Regions from separate parts of the Homo sapiens genome. Here region 1 is linked to region 2. The links are contacts of gene promoters, found by promoter capture Hi-C in human tissues and cell types (Jung and others, 2019). All regions are on one chromosome and are shown on one strand. The core of a region is centred on a gene start or on the middle of the fragment in contact, and the rest is flanking DNA. Distances in the headings are between cores, read along the strand shown. Region 1 overlaps PPP1R3D (protein phosphatase 1 regulatory subunit 3D). Region 2 holds the start of VAPB (VAMP associated protein B and C).

What was found. The method cuts DNA at HindIII sites, captures the fragments that hold promoters and counts their contacts. A contact is called where the count stands out against the background at its distance.
Region 1: a contact is called between a fragment that was not itself captured here and the fragment with the promoter of VAPB in region 2, in 1 of the 25 tissues and cell types used here (dorsolateral prefrontal cortex).

Annotation. Positions count from the first base shown.
Region 1 is chr20:59,933,159-59,939,809 of GRCh38, reverse strand. PPP1R3D (protein phosphatase 1 regulatory subunit 3D) reads left to right here. Exons shown (of 1, transcript NM_006242.4): 1 at 1-3,147. The coding sequence ends at 778. SYCP2 (synaptonemal complex protein 2) reads left to right here and starts at 6,173. Exons shown (of 45, transcript NM_014258.4): 1 at 6,173-6,241. It also overlaps a transcript of FAM217B not described here. RefSeq lists silencers at 1-43, 5,483-5,882. The HindIII fragment of the contact is 3,518 bases long and covers 377-3,894 here.
Region 2 is chr20:58,387,160-58,393,566 of GRCh38, reverse strand. VAPB (VAMP associated protein B and C) reads right to left here and starts at 4,338. Exons shown (of 6, transcript NM_004738.5): 1 at 4,050-4,338. The coding sequence starts at 4,107. RefSeq lists silencers at 3,810-3,929, 4,190-4,629. The HindIII fragment of the contact is 14,716 bases long and covers 1-6,407 here.

The DNA.
Region 1 (6,651 bases), core at 886-3,385, 1.5 Mb before region 2:
TAGGCCCCCTGGGAGCCCGGGCCGCGCGCCGCCGCCAACGCCAGCGCCGTCGGGCTGCGACCCCCGCCTGCGGCCCATCATCCTGCGGCGGGCGCGCTCACTGCCCAGCTCCCCCGAGCGCCGCCAGAAGGCCGCGGGCGCGCCGGGCGCTGCGTGTCGGCCGGGCTGCAGCCAGAAGCTCCGCGTGCGCTTCGCCGACGCCCTGGGCTTGGAGCTGGCACAGGTCAAGGTGTTCAACGCGGGAGACGACCCGTCCGTGCCGCTGCACGTGCTGTCGCGGCTCGCAATCAACTCGGACCTGTGCTGCAGCAGCCAGGACCTGGAGTTCACCCTGCATTGCCTGGTGCCCGATTTCCCGCCGCCCGTCGAGGCCGCCGACTTTGGCGAGCGCCTGCAGCGGCAGCTCGTGTGCCTGGAGCGTGTCACTTGCTCGGACCTTGGCATCAGCGGTACGGTGCGCGTGTGCAACGTGGCCTTCGAGAAGCAGGTGGCTGTGCGCTACACTTTCTCGGGCTGGCGCAGTACCCACGAGGCGGTGGCGCGGTGGCGCGGGCCCGCAGGCCCCGAGGGCACGGAGGACGTTTTCACCTTCGGCTTTCCAGTACCGCCCTTCCTGCTGGAGCTCGGCTCCCGCGTGCACTTCGCGGTGCGCTACCAAGTGGCGGGTGCCGAGTACTGGGACAACAACGACCACCGAGACTACAGCCTCACATGTCGCAACCACGCGCTGCACATGCCTCGCGGGGAGTGCGAAGAGAGCTGGATCCACTTCATCTGAGCCGCGCGGGGACCGGCCACCTGGAGCCTCCACACCTAAGCTGCGCCTCCTGTCATTTCCCTGCTGGGCTCTCACATCTATCTGGTTGTTCTTCACCACCCTCCAAGTCCTCTGACCTAATTTTCTGCTGCAAGGTCCCCTGGCAGTGGCCCATCCTGTCTTCTACTTGAAACGTCTGAGTCACTTGGTCTAAAAAGTAGCCTCAGGTGGCCAGAAGGCCGAGTTGTGTAATGAGTTGGGGCAGGGTGGTGGGGTAGGTGCATGGGAGGGTGGGCCCTCTGGGGAGGCCCAAGCAGCTTGTTTTGCAAAGGCCCAAGTCCTCCTGCTAGGAAAAGCTTTTGCATGTGTCCTGAATGTGTCTCTGTAAACATAGCTGTTATTTATTATTGTGATGTTGGGACCTTTAGCCCATAGCGGATGCCTCCTCAGGAATATTCTCGATTTAATAAGCTAAAAAAAAAAAGTTCTGTGTTTGTGCCCACAGTAAACAGAATGTACAGTGTGACCCACATCGTGGTCCCTCCAGGCATTCCTGCCCCAGGATAAGGAAAACCTGAGCCCACATCTGATTGCCAACGGCTGTAGCCTTCTAACAGTGGGAAACTATTAATAGGCAAGAAATTTCTGCTTTATCAGTCATCACACAACCATTCCTGGGCATTGAGACTGTCCTGGTTAGGCTGTGTGTCTCCTACATTAACAGCTGGGGAGGAGGGAAAAGCTTCAGACTTTTAAACTAGCAAAACAGTTATTTCTCTGCATTCACAATTCTGATTTCATGTATTTCTCTGTACATGTTTGATCATTATCAGGCCATTCTGTTTAAGTTTGAAACTAAGCATTTTAAGAAGTCTTGCCTCAGTTATTTCAGTTTTCAGGTGACTAGAGAATTTCAGGCAACAGTGCCCTTTGCAATTACCTTTTTGATGATTAAGGTGACTATTTTTATTTCTTGTTAAGCATCAGAAGATGTCAGCATTCATCTTTTGGGAGTCCAGTTACAAGGTGGAACTAGAAGGTGTTTTCAGCAATAGCCAGAGCACTGGAGGAAAAATAATTGACAAATATTTATACTTTTAAATTGTTTTGAACTGTATTTACATACATCATGTTTTATCAGGTACCCACCAACTTTATACTTTCTGCCTTCAGATAGAGTTTCTAACATTTTCTAGTTTGTCAGTTTTAAAATATAAAATTCTTTTATGTTTTTAAACCGTCAACCAAGAAGTCAAGACCACTGTCCCCTGCTGAGTTAGGCAATCACTTAAAACTCCAAAGAACTCCAGGCTGAGGAGTTCTTTTGGTGCTGAACAGTGGTCTGACAACAGGTGCTAGAATTAAGGTGTGGGAAAAAAAAAAAAACAGCCAGGAAGGACAAGATCTCCAATTTGTGAAGCTTATGATACAGCTGAAACCAGTCTGATCAATTTTATGCTACCTGTCACCAAGAAATTAACTCTAAATTTTTGAATGCTTGTTGGCATCTGTCAAATCAATACTGAAAGGATGCATTTCGGCTTTTAACCAGTTTGGTTCTGATCATTGCAACCTCTGTGCTTTTATAATTCAAAGAACAAGGATAGCTTTCTTCGGTATCTTTTAATATAAGAACACTGAATTTTGGCTTGAAATATTGTGACTAAATTGCACAATCTCTGGCTATTAGCACTGTTCACTACATTAACATGCAAGAGAGAGAGAAGCCTTGTTACATTTCCTGCTATTTAACAAACTGTCCAATTAGGTCAGCAAGCCTGTTAGGGCCTTCACTGCTACGCCCCTGGCCCCAAAACAGAGAGCAAGACAGTTGTCCAGAGAATTTAGATATGAGTTAAGAGCTGCCAGATTTATTTTAAGGCATGTAGAGAATCTCATAATCTATGTGAAAGTCACTTGCCAAAAAGGTTTTGGTTATGAAAGTGAATGTTATATATTTAATATTAAGTGAACCTCCCGTGCCTTTTAAAAAATACCAACATTATGAAATTTAAAAGCTTAAATATATTTGCCTAGTTGATAAAGAGGCTGTGGAACAACTGAAGGAGAACTTTCAGACCCTAAAACAGTTATATTACTTAGATGTTAAAATTTTCTAGTGGGCTGTGCAATTGCTGGGTTGTCCCCCCAAACATATTTTAATATGTTATTTAAAATGATTTTACCCAAGCCTAAGTATTAAAGTATATGTGCAAAAACAGTTGTGAGCCATTCTATTATGCTTCAGTATGTTTTTCTTGTGGCCTAATTACAGAAGACCAAGCTTTAGAAACTTCTTGTCTAAATCATTTCACATGCAAGTCTTATCCTTTCTACAACACTGATAAACGTAGAGCCTTGGCAAAAATAAATTTTGTCATTGTGCCTCAGCGTCAGTAGCAGAGTTGTTGTATGTGTCTTTGAGAAAAGGAAATGCAATTTTATATGCCAGGTCAGCATGAGGTATGAAGAAAGCTCTAGGGGAATACAGGGAATGTGATCATTAATGTACTTCTCTTACAACAGTTAATGACACTGTGCAGGCAGTAATGAGTGTCTGTCTGTCTGCCTTCCGGATCGTGACCCTCACCTAAGTACAAAGTCTTGCACATGGGGGAAGAAAACTTACATTTATTTTGTCTTCCCTTATTTGCTTGGCCACAGTGCTAAGTGCTTTAAATATGTGATTTCATTTAATTCTGAATGTTATGCTACCTGGTAGACAATATCCCCTTTTTCTTAGCTGAAAATAAAGCTCAGAGTGGTGTAAGTACAGCCATAGGCCACATAACATTTCACTCAACAGGGTAACTGTATATATGACGTGGATCCATGGAATTATACCAGATTTTTTTCCGTATCTTTTCTGTGTTTAGATACACAAATACCCTTGTGTTACAGTTGTCTACCGTATTCACTGCAGTAACATGCTGTATACAGGTTTGCAGCCTTGAAGCAATAGACTGTACTATATATACCTGAGGTGTGTAGTAGGCTATACCATCTAGGTTTTTGTAAGTAAACGCTAAGATATTCACACAATAACAAAATTGCTTGAGGAGGACACCTTTCTCAGAACTTACCCCTATCATTAAGCAATACATAACTGTAATTCACCTAAAGTCCCATAGCTGGTAAGTAACAAATTGAACATTGAAACCTGTTTCAAAGTCAATGCTCTCTCTACCTGTTATATGACATATAGAATATTGCAAATAAATGCTTGTTGATTCAGAAAGCTAAATTAATTGAACGCCACATTATGATATTTCTCTTTTTTGAGAGAAGGTCTTGCCTTGTCACCAACGTTGGAGTGCAGTGGTGCAATCATAGCTCACTGCAGCCTCCAGCTCCTGGGCTCAAGCAGAATTCTCCTACCTCAGCCTCCGGCGTAGAGCAGCTAGGTGCACAGGCACATGCCACCACGCCTGGCTAATTTTGTTTTTTTGTAGAGATAGGGCCTAGCTATGTTGCCCAGGCTAGTTTCAAATTCCTGGCCTCAAGCAATCCCATCAACTCAGCCTCCCAAAGTGCAGGGAGTATATGTGTGAACCACGGCACATAGTTTCCAAATTTTGATTATAATTGAGAAGGTTTTTCATGAAATGCCACGGTCTAAAACCTTTAAAAAAAATTAACAGTAAAATTAATGATATCCTTTTTTTCTTCCATGTTGTAGTTTACGGATGTTTACTAAATAATCCGCAGGCTTCCTGAACACATGAAGCAATAAAAAAGACTAACATTTTTCTTCAACTAAAAAGCGGCAAGGTAAAAAATCATCACTATTAATTTTTGAAGTGTATTAGGAAAATTTCTGTGCGTTCGCAACTCCACCATGAAGGATCTTAGATCTATTGGCGGAAAACTAGGTATGAAAATAATTATGCAAAATTGCCAGGTCACAATTTTGAAGCACTCTTCGATCTTCTTACATTTTGTGTTATACATTATTAGTACTTAAACGTATAATTCAAAAGCATTGAAAGCTTTGAACATATAAAATCCCCTCAAATCCCTGCGTACACCTGTGTACCTTAGATTGCATATGTAATCTGTCAGCTCTGAATTAAAAAACTAAGATATCAAAATTAAGTTCAATGGGGGTAGTTACAAAGTTGTCAAGAAGTTGGTAATTCTAGCTAAGCAGAATATTTAAAACACCTCTGAGAGCTTATTTACTGTGATTTGATCTGCTCTGGTCCACAACTGAGCTTTGATTCTATTACCTTGTGTTTATTTTTTTCAGGTGCTTTCCACCGCACATTTAAATCTTAATCCCATATTTTTAAACAATTAGTGCCTTTTAGATAAGAAATTAAAATGTTATTAAAATATAATTTTAAATTTTGATTTGAAGATACCTATAAAAGTTTAACTACACATACAATTCAACTTTTAAAAATTGATCCGACACAAATATTAATCCAAAGGTGGTTTGCTGCAGTATTATTTGTAATAGAAGTGTAGGCTCATCAGTGGAGGATTGAATTCCTCGGATGAAGTTAATCCACATGATTAAATAATTACGAAGCTGTTAGAAAGACCGAGCTGCATCTCAGTGCACGTGGAACAGTTTCCATCTCAGAACGCGAGCACGGGGAAAACACGCAGAAGACTGAGCGCCGAACACCGACGCCCTCTGCGAGCCAAGGGGCAAGGAGACCCTTTCGCGGCTGTGCCTGTCTCAGAAGGGCCTGCGATTTTTTACACAAGCACCCGCTGGCTGCATAAGTTAAACGGATCTCTTAAATGGAAGCGTCTGAAAGAGCCTAGGAATACACAGTTGGGTACCCAGCTCAGCACCCCGTCTCCGGACCTGCGGTCTCTCCCGCCCTCCGGCACCCGCACCCAGGAGCCCAGGCGGCCCTGCGCCCCCTGCCGGCAGGAGCCAGGCCTCACCCAGGAGTCGTCGGCCCGGCGCCCTGGTCCCCCGGTCCAGCTCGCCCCTGCAGGGCTGGCTGGAGCCGCGGGTCCCAGTGGCTCTGGGGACGCATAGCGCGGGGATGGGCTTCTCCTGGTCCCGCCCGCGCTTCCGTCCCTTCCATCCCTTCCTGCTCGCCTGTCCCGGGACCAGGGCCCCAGTCAAGGCAGCGAGTCTCCTCGCTGGCGGGGGTGACTCCGCTCGCGGGGCGTTCATCAGGAGAGCATAGCGCGAGAGGACGGGCCGAAGCGCGGGGACAGCGGGGACCCACTAACCTGAGGGCCTGGCCTGAGCCGCGCCCACAGCGTCCCCCTTGGCTCAGGCCTCGGGCGACCCCGGCGAGCGTTGGCGGGGGTGGGGGGGATGGGGGGGGCGGGACCTGGCTGGCGGCGACGCCGATTGGACGCACTATCGACCGCACCTGGCGCGGATTGGACGGGCGCTTCCCGCCTTCCGCCGTTCGCCGGAGGCGCTGCGGCGGTCCCTGAGGCGCAGAGTTGCGACGCTCGGCGGCATAGGGGGCGGCTCCACCGACACTACGCGGACGCCTCCTGCCGCAGGCAGGTTGAGCAGAGTGCCTGGGTGGGCTTCCCCCACGGCGGGGCGCGGAGGGAGGGTGGGGCTTCGGCTTGGCCTTTCAAGCCGGCAGGCGAGAAGCTTCCGACGGTTGAGGCGGAGCCGTTGTGGAAGCTGCCGAGGGGGAGGGGGTGCGGTTCTGCGGCAGTGGGCGGAGGGGAGGCGCCGAGGCTGGGCCAGGGCGTGGGCTGTGCAGAGTTCGCGGCGAGGGTGGCTCGCGCAGGCGCGAGGCTCCCCATCAGCACCTGCCTGGCCAGCCTCGGCCTCGGGGATGGGAAATGGGCGCTCGGAGCCGCCCCCGCGCGTGGGCGACTCGGTCAAGGTGGCTGAGGCGCGGGGCGGTGCGCTTGGCGAGCGGGGAGCAGGCCTGGGGCTGCGCGCGTCGCCGGCCCGA
Region 2 (6,407 bases), core at 3,089-5,588:
CATGGAAGGGGAGGGAGAAGGGAATGAAAGAAGAGTGCTATATAATGCCTTGAAAGTGACTCATTCGGAAAGCTCTCTTTGAGCTGGACAACAAGTGGGATCTCAGAGTGAGGAGATGGCAAGGAAACGATTAGGACTTGGAAGAACTGAGATCAACAGAAAGAGTGACAATTTTAAAAAACTCCTATGACTTAGTGAAAAAGACAAAAAGAAATATAAAAGAAAACACACACTTAGGCTGCATGCAGTGGCTCATGCCTGTAATCCCAGCACTTTGGAAGGCTGAGGCGGGAGGACTGCTTGAGGCCAGGAATTCAAGACCAGCCTGGGCAACATGGCAAGACTCTATCTTTACAAAAAAATTTAAAAATTAGCCAGGAATGGTGGCATCTGTAGTCCTAGCTACCAGGGAACCTAAAGCAGGAGGATCTCTTGAGCCCAGGAGTTTGAGGCTACAGTGAGCTATGATGGCACCACTGCCCTCCAGCCTGGGTGACAGAGCAAGACCCTGCCAAAAAACAAAAACATTTACTCTCTCAGAAAGATACCCCTAGTCTGAAAGAGCTTAATGTTCACTTACTAAAAATATCTCATGAAAGTCAACCTTAAGTCTAGGCAAATCCTCCTGTGTCATGCTTCTTTCAGGAAGCCACCAGGCTTTCTCCTTTTGATATTTATGATGCAGCATAGTACTTCCTATAAAACTGCATAAAGTCATATAAATTTGCATTCTTTTTCTTCTGTAACATCCTTAAATTTAACATACCACACAAAATTCCCAAGATTAAAGAGTCTGACAATATACAATCCCATACGATCAACTTAGGCTGCATTTAAAAGATAATTTTTCCTTTGAATGGGCATTTTAGTTATTACCTTCTCAAGTAAAGTTAGCTCAGAGGTTCATCTAGGTGAACGACCAGAAATCAGAGTCGTCACCCTGAGTAACCTGGAAGAAACCAGTTAAATGTGCCATTTCTCATCCTGAAATGAATTATCTCTAAGTCAGGGTATTCAGTCTCTATTAATTGTACTGTCTTAGCATTCAGTTTAAAACAAACAAACAACACACCTCATGACGTCATTTAAGAACACACACAGATGTCTCTTCTAAAGTTATGAGCCAGAGGCCTTCAACAATTTGGTACCACTTCTCTTGGACCACTTCCCTAGCAAAAATATCCAGTGACTTTGGCATAATTACTTTGGCCAATCCAGGGCCAGAATGATCGCTATTCTCTGCCACACCTTTCAGGTACAGAAGTGATGAAACCACTTAAGTAGTTAAGTGGTTGTCTAATCTCTGTATAGTACTATGCACTTACAAAGCCACTAACAGCCATGTCATTCCTTCTAAACACGTTCTACAAGAGGCAACGTGGACACGAGCATCATCCCCATTGACCGAATAACCACCCCAGGCTTTGAGGAGTGAAGTGGCCTAAGGTCACACATCTTTCAGTAAAACAATTGAACAAAATCTTAAATTTTCTCAAATGAGTGCCTCTTTCCATAACATATTAGACAACAGAGTTTGTACTGGGATTTGGGGGTTTTCAGAAAGTTAATGCAAGGAAGGACTGCTCAAGGAGAAGCAACACAATTTTAACTTGGACACTGGCTGCATCTATGCATAAAGGGACTGAGATCTGACTCTTGTCTACTCACCAGCCTTGTCTCCCATCTTGCCAGGCAACCACAACAAATGTTCTTTGTTGCTGTCATTCAGAACCACTAGTGGTGGCCGGGCTCACGCCTGTAATCCCAGCACTTTGAGAGGCCAAGGAGGGCGGATCACTTGAGGTCCGGAGTTTGAGACCAGCCTGGCCAACATAGTGAAACACCGTCTCTACTAAAAATACAAAATTTAGCCAGGCGTAGTGGCACATGCCTGTATGTAATCCCAGCTACTCAAGAGGCTGAGGCAGGAGAATCACTTGAACCTGGGAGGCAGAGGCTGCAGTGAGATGGCGCCTCTGCACTCCAGCCTGGGTGACAGAGTGAGAACTCTATCTCAAAAAAAAAAAAACTACTAGTGGCATCCCAAAGGAGCCCAGTCATCTCAGTGTTTGTGCCTCTGTGCATGCAATTTCCTCTGTCTGAAATGTTCCCCACCCTTTCCTTCTTTGAGCCTTCTTCTACTCGACCTTTATAACTGAGCTCAAATGACACCTCTTTCAGGAGTTGACCTCCTCAATGCTCCTGGAGCACTCTGGACTACCCTACATCATTGTCCTGTCCTGGCTGTTATTCTCATCTGCCCCCTTCCCTAAAGTACTGGGAGGAGGTTGAGGGAAAATAGGAGAGTACAGCTGATATAACTTGGCTTCTCTGGGTATCTGACACACAGATCAGGTACTCAGTAAATGTTTGTGGACTAACCGAATGAACCCACCAATTATCAGGAGAAGCCAAGCCAGGCCTCCCAGATAGAGAAAGAACTTCAGACAACTCAAGTGGAAACTAAGGCTCACTATTTTCACTTTAGCTACCTGGACTTCTTTCCCAATCTGGCATCCCCAGAAGGCCATGAGAACATCATGAAAGCTCAAGTACTATCCTGGAATTACAATCCACGGTAGGTTTGGTGGGGTTTTTCGGTTTTTTCATTTTAATTGGAAAGCCTTTGGTTCTCTGTAAATTCAGAGTTATTTCACATTGTTAACTTGGAAGGCAAAGTGACAGCCACCGTTCTGGAGTATTTCCCAGCGATCAGACAGCAAAACGGTTAAGAGCGTGAACTCTGAAGTCTGGGTTCAAATGTACCATTTGCCAACTGGGTAACTTTGGGTAAGTTACCCTACACTACTTCCCAATAGGACATATAAACTGGAGAGCCTCTGGCCATTCATTCATTCATAAATACCAACTGAGCATCTACTGTGAGTCCGGTGCTAGCGATATAGTGGAGACCCGGCCTTCCAATCTAAAGTACGCTTCCATGGAGTCAGACTGTTCCATTTCCTACACAGCACTTAGCACTATCTGCAATGATCTTGTGTGTTGGTTTGTCTGTCCTCGTCGGAAGGTAAGCTCTGTGAGAGCAGAGGCCTTATCTGTCTTGTGCATCCATCACCTCCCCAGAGCCTCCCACATCACTGGATACACGCAAAAAGAAAGAATGAGCATGTCAGACAAGAACTTTTACCTCGTGGCCCTGGTGAAGGTAGGAAAAAAAAAAAAAAAACAAAAGTAACAACATAGAAAACATAAAGGCACAAATTACAGAGGTAATAGTATCTGGGAGAAACCAGGGTCATGGCTTCCCATCGCCGCAGGTGTTGCTCCAGACAGCTCTGCGGAGAAAAAGGATCCCAGCACCGTGGCAGCCTCCTTGCACCGCAACCAGGAGACAGCATGAGGGACGCAGTGAAAGGAAAATGGGCCCAATCCCATCAGAAGTCCTGAGGAGGTTCATTTGTTGGTTCAACATGTTCATCTGTTGGTTCAACAGGTATTTATTTACTAGGCGTATAATGTGTGCTGGGTACACAGCAGCGAACTGACAAGAGCCTGTCCTCATGCAGTTTCCCTTCTAGTATTGAAACAGTGATTTTGGGTATGAAAAGTGCCGTGCTGACCACGAAACAGTGACGGAATAGGGAATGACAGCAGGTGTGCACGGTGGCTGGGTGGTCACAGCAGGCCTCTCTGAGCAGCTGACACCTCAACTAAGCCCTGAGGTCAACACTGTCACGGAGCAGGGGAAGAAACTTCTAGGCAAAGGCAGCGGCGGAGGCTCACACTAGAGAGGATCACAAACTGGTAAGTTACAAAGTGACAAGTGCCTCGAAGGCAAGTCCCAGGAGGCTGGGGGTCGGGGAGGAGGCGCAGGCCCCGGCTCCCGCACCAGCCCTCTCGGGTCCCGGCCACTCCGGGCAGTTCTGGGGAGCGCGGCGAGCGCCAAGGCCCGGCCCGGCCTCGCCGCCCCCCGCGACAGCGCCGTCGGGGTGGGGACGAGGGCCGACGTCACCCGCCGCGCCGGGCTCCGTCCTTCCAGCACTGGGGCGGAGGCCGCGGGCAGGAAGGTGGCGGCCTCTGGGGCTTACCTCGGAATTTGAGCTCGTGCTGCGGCTCGAGGCTCAGGACCTGCTCCACCTTCGCCATGTTCCTTAGCGGCGGAGCACCTTTGGCGGGGAGACCCCTGAGAGGTCACCGGGGCGGGAAGCGTTAATGCTGCGCCCGCTTTAAGTTTTACAAAAAGGCGGGGACCGGTCGGGGCACGGGCGGGGGTCCTCTACCGGGTGGGCGCGCTGGGGGGGGGTCGGTCTACGCGGTGCAGGCGCAGGGGCGGAGGGCGAGGGCGAGGCCGCGGTGCCCGGCGAGCTGACGGCACGCACGCACGCACGCACGCACGCAGAGTCGTACACACGCACGCACGCAGCAGGCTGGCCCGCTCTGGCGGCGGGAAGCTGCGCCCTGCGCCGCCGGCTCCAGGGGCGGGGACTAAAGCTGCGCGCGTAGAGCCCCTTCCGGGACAGTGCGCAGGCGCGGCACAAGCCACGGGGGCGGGACTGCGGGGCAGTAAGGGGCGGGGCTTCGGGCCGCTCAGGAGGCGGGGTCTGTAGTCCAGCTACGACAGCCACCGCGGAAACTATTAAGGGCCCGCTGGGGGCCAGCTTCGTGTTAAGTGCTTTATTCAATAATAACAATTAGAATAAACTTCCACTTTTCTCTTGCTTATGTAGTGCCAGGCACTGTTAGAGACTTTGAATAATAGTGAAAGTACTTAGTATAAGTATAATGTTTATGGGTGAGTGATATGGGCTAGGCACTGTGACGTCTTGTAAATAATAATTATAAATATAATAAACTACCAATTATTGCTTATTTATTTTGTATCACTCTACTGAATGCTTCCAATAACAACAGCAACTACAATAAATACAAGCTACTCTACGTTAAATGTTTACTATGCAACTGGCACTGTGCTGAATTCTTTACTAGTAAATTCTATTTGTTTATGCAACAAATATTTAGAAATACAATGATCAGAAAAGCGAACCTGATTCCAATCCTTTTACTATAGCCTAGTGAAGAGACATCTTTTGAATAAATAACCACACACGTAAGTTAAATAATTAAAAATTGCTGGAGAATCCAGATCTGCTTGACCTCAAAAGTGGATACTCTACATCATGATTACCGTTTAAATTGTATTTCATTATATTATGTTTACTATGGAAGTTAAATAGGTGTTCTTAATAGTCTCCTATACATACCCATATAGGTGAGACAAATGTGGCAAATTGCTAGCAATGGCTGACTCTACATCGCAGGTATATGGTTTTCTTGTACTGTTTCTCCCACTTTGCTGTATACTTGAAATTTTTCATGATAAAAAGGTTTTTTAAAAGAATAGTCTTTGTATTTTAACTGGAGCATTTAGTCCATTTACATTTATTATATTTACTGATATATCTGGAATTATTTCTACCATTGTATTTTGTTATTTCTATTTGTCCTGCCTGGTTTTTTTCCCCTTTCCTTTCTTCTTTAGGGTTTATTTTTATTCTCATTCTGATTTTCTTCACCTGTATACTCTATTTCTAAGTTTTAGTGGTTACTTCAAACTTTTGGGCATGCATACTTACCTTGTGAAAGTCCAATATCTTTAAATATTTGTAAAAATGTCTTTACCCTGTTTCCTTAAAATATAAAGACTTTGGAGTACTTTAATCACCCATCCTCTAAATTATACACCTTAATGTAGTGTATGTTAAGTTTAACCTTTGCCACTGTAACCCCAAGAGACATTACTAAATTGTTTTATTCAGTCAACATTAGTTTAGATTCAGCCACACAATTACCATTTTTATCCACCTTTTCTTCTTGCATCTCAGCTTTCACCAACAGGATCACTCTCCTTTTGCCTGAGGTAAATCCTTTAAATTTTATTTTTTTGTAGCTTCGTTGGTGCAAATCCTCTCAGTTTCTGCTCATCTGCAAATGGATTCATTTTTGCCTTTTGTTGTTTTTATTTTATTTATTTATTTATTTGGAGATGAGGTCTTGCTCTGTTGCCCATGCTGGAGTGCAGTGGCATGATCGTGGCTCACTGCAACCTGTATCTCCCAGGCTGAAACAATCCTCCCACCTCAGACTCCGGTGTAGCTGGGACTAAAAGCATGCACCACCACGCCCAGCTAATTTTTTTATTTTCTGTAAAATCTCACTATGTTGCCCAGGCTGGTTTCAAACTCCTGGGCTCAAGTGATCCTCCTGCTTCAGCCGCCAAAGTGCTAGGATTACAGGCATGAGCCACTGCGCCTGGCCTTGCCCTTGTTCTTGACAGATATTTTGGCTTGCTTGCTTGAATGACAGCTGTCCTCTCTCAGCACACTTGATTGCCATCCACTGTTTGCCTGTTCCCCCTCATTGCTCCTCAGGAGTCCAGTGACAATCTT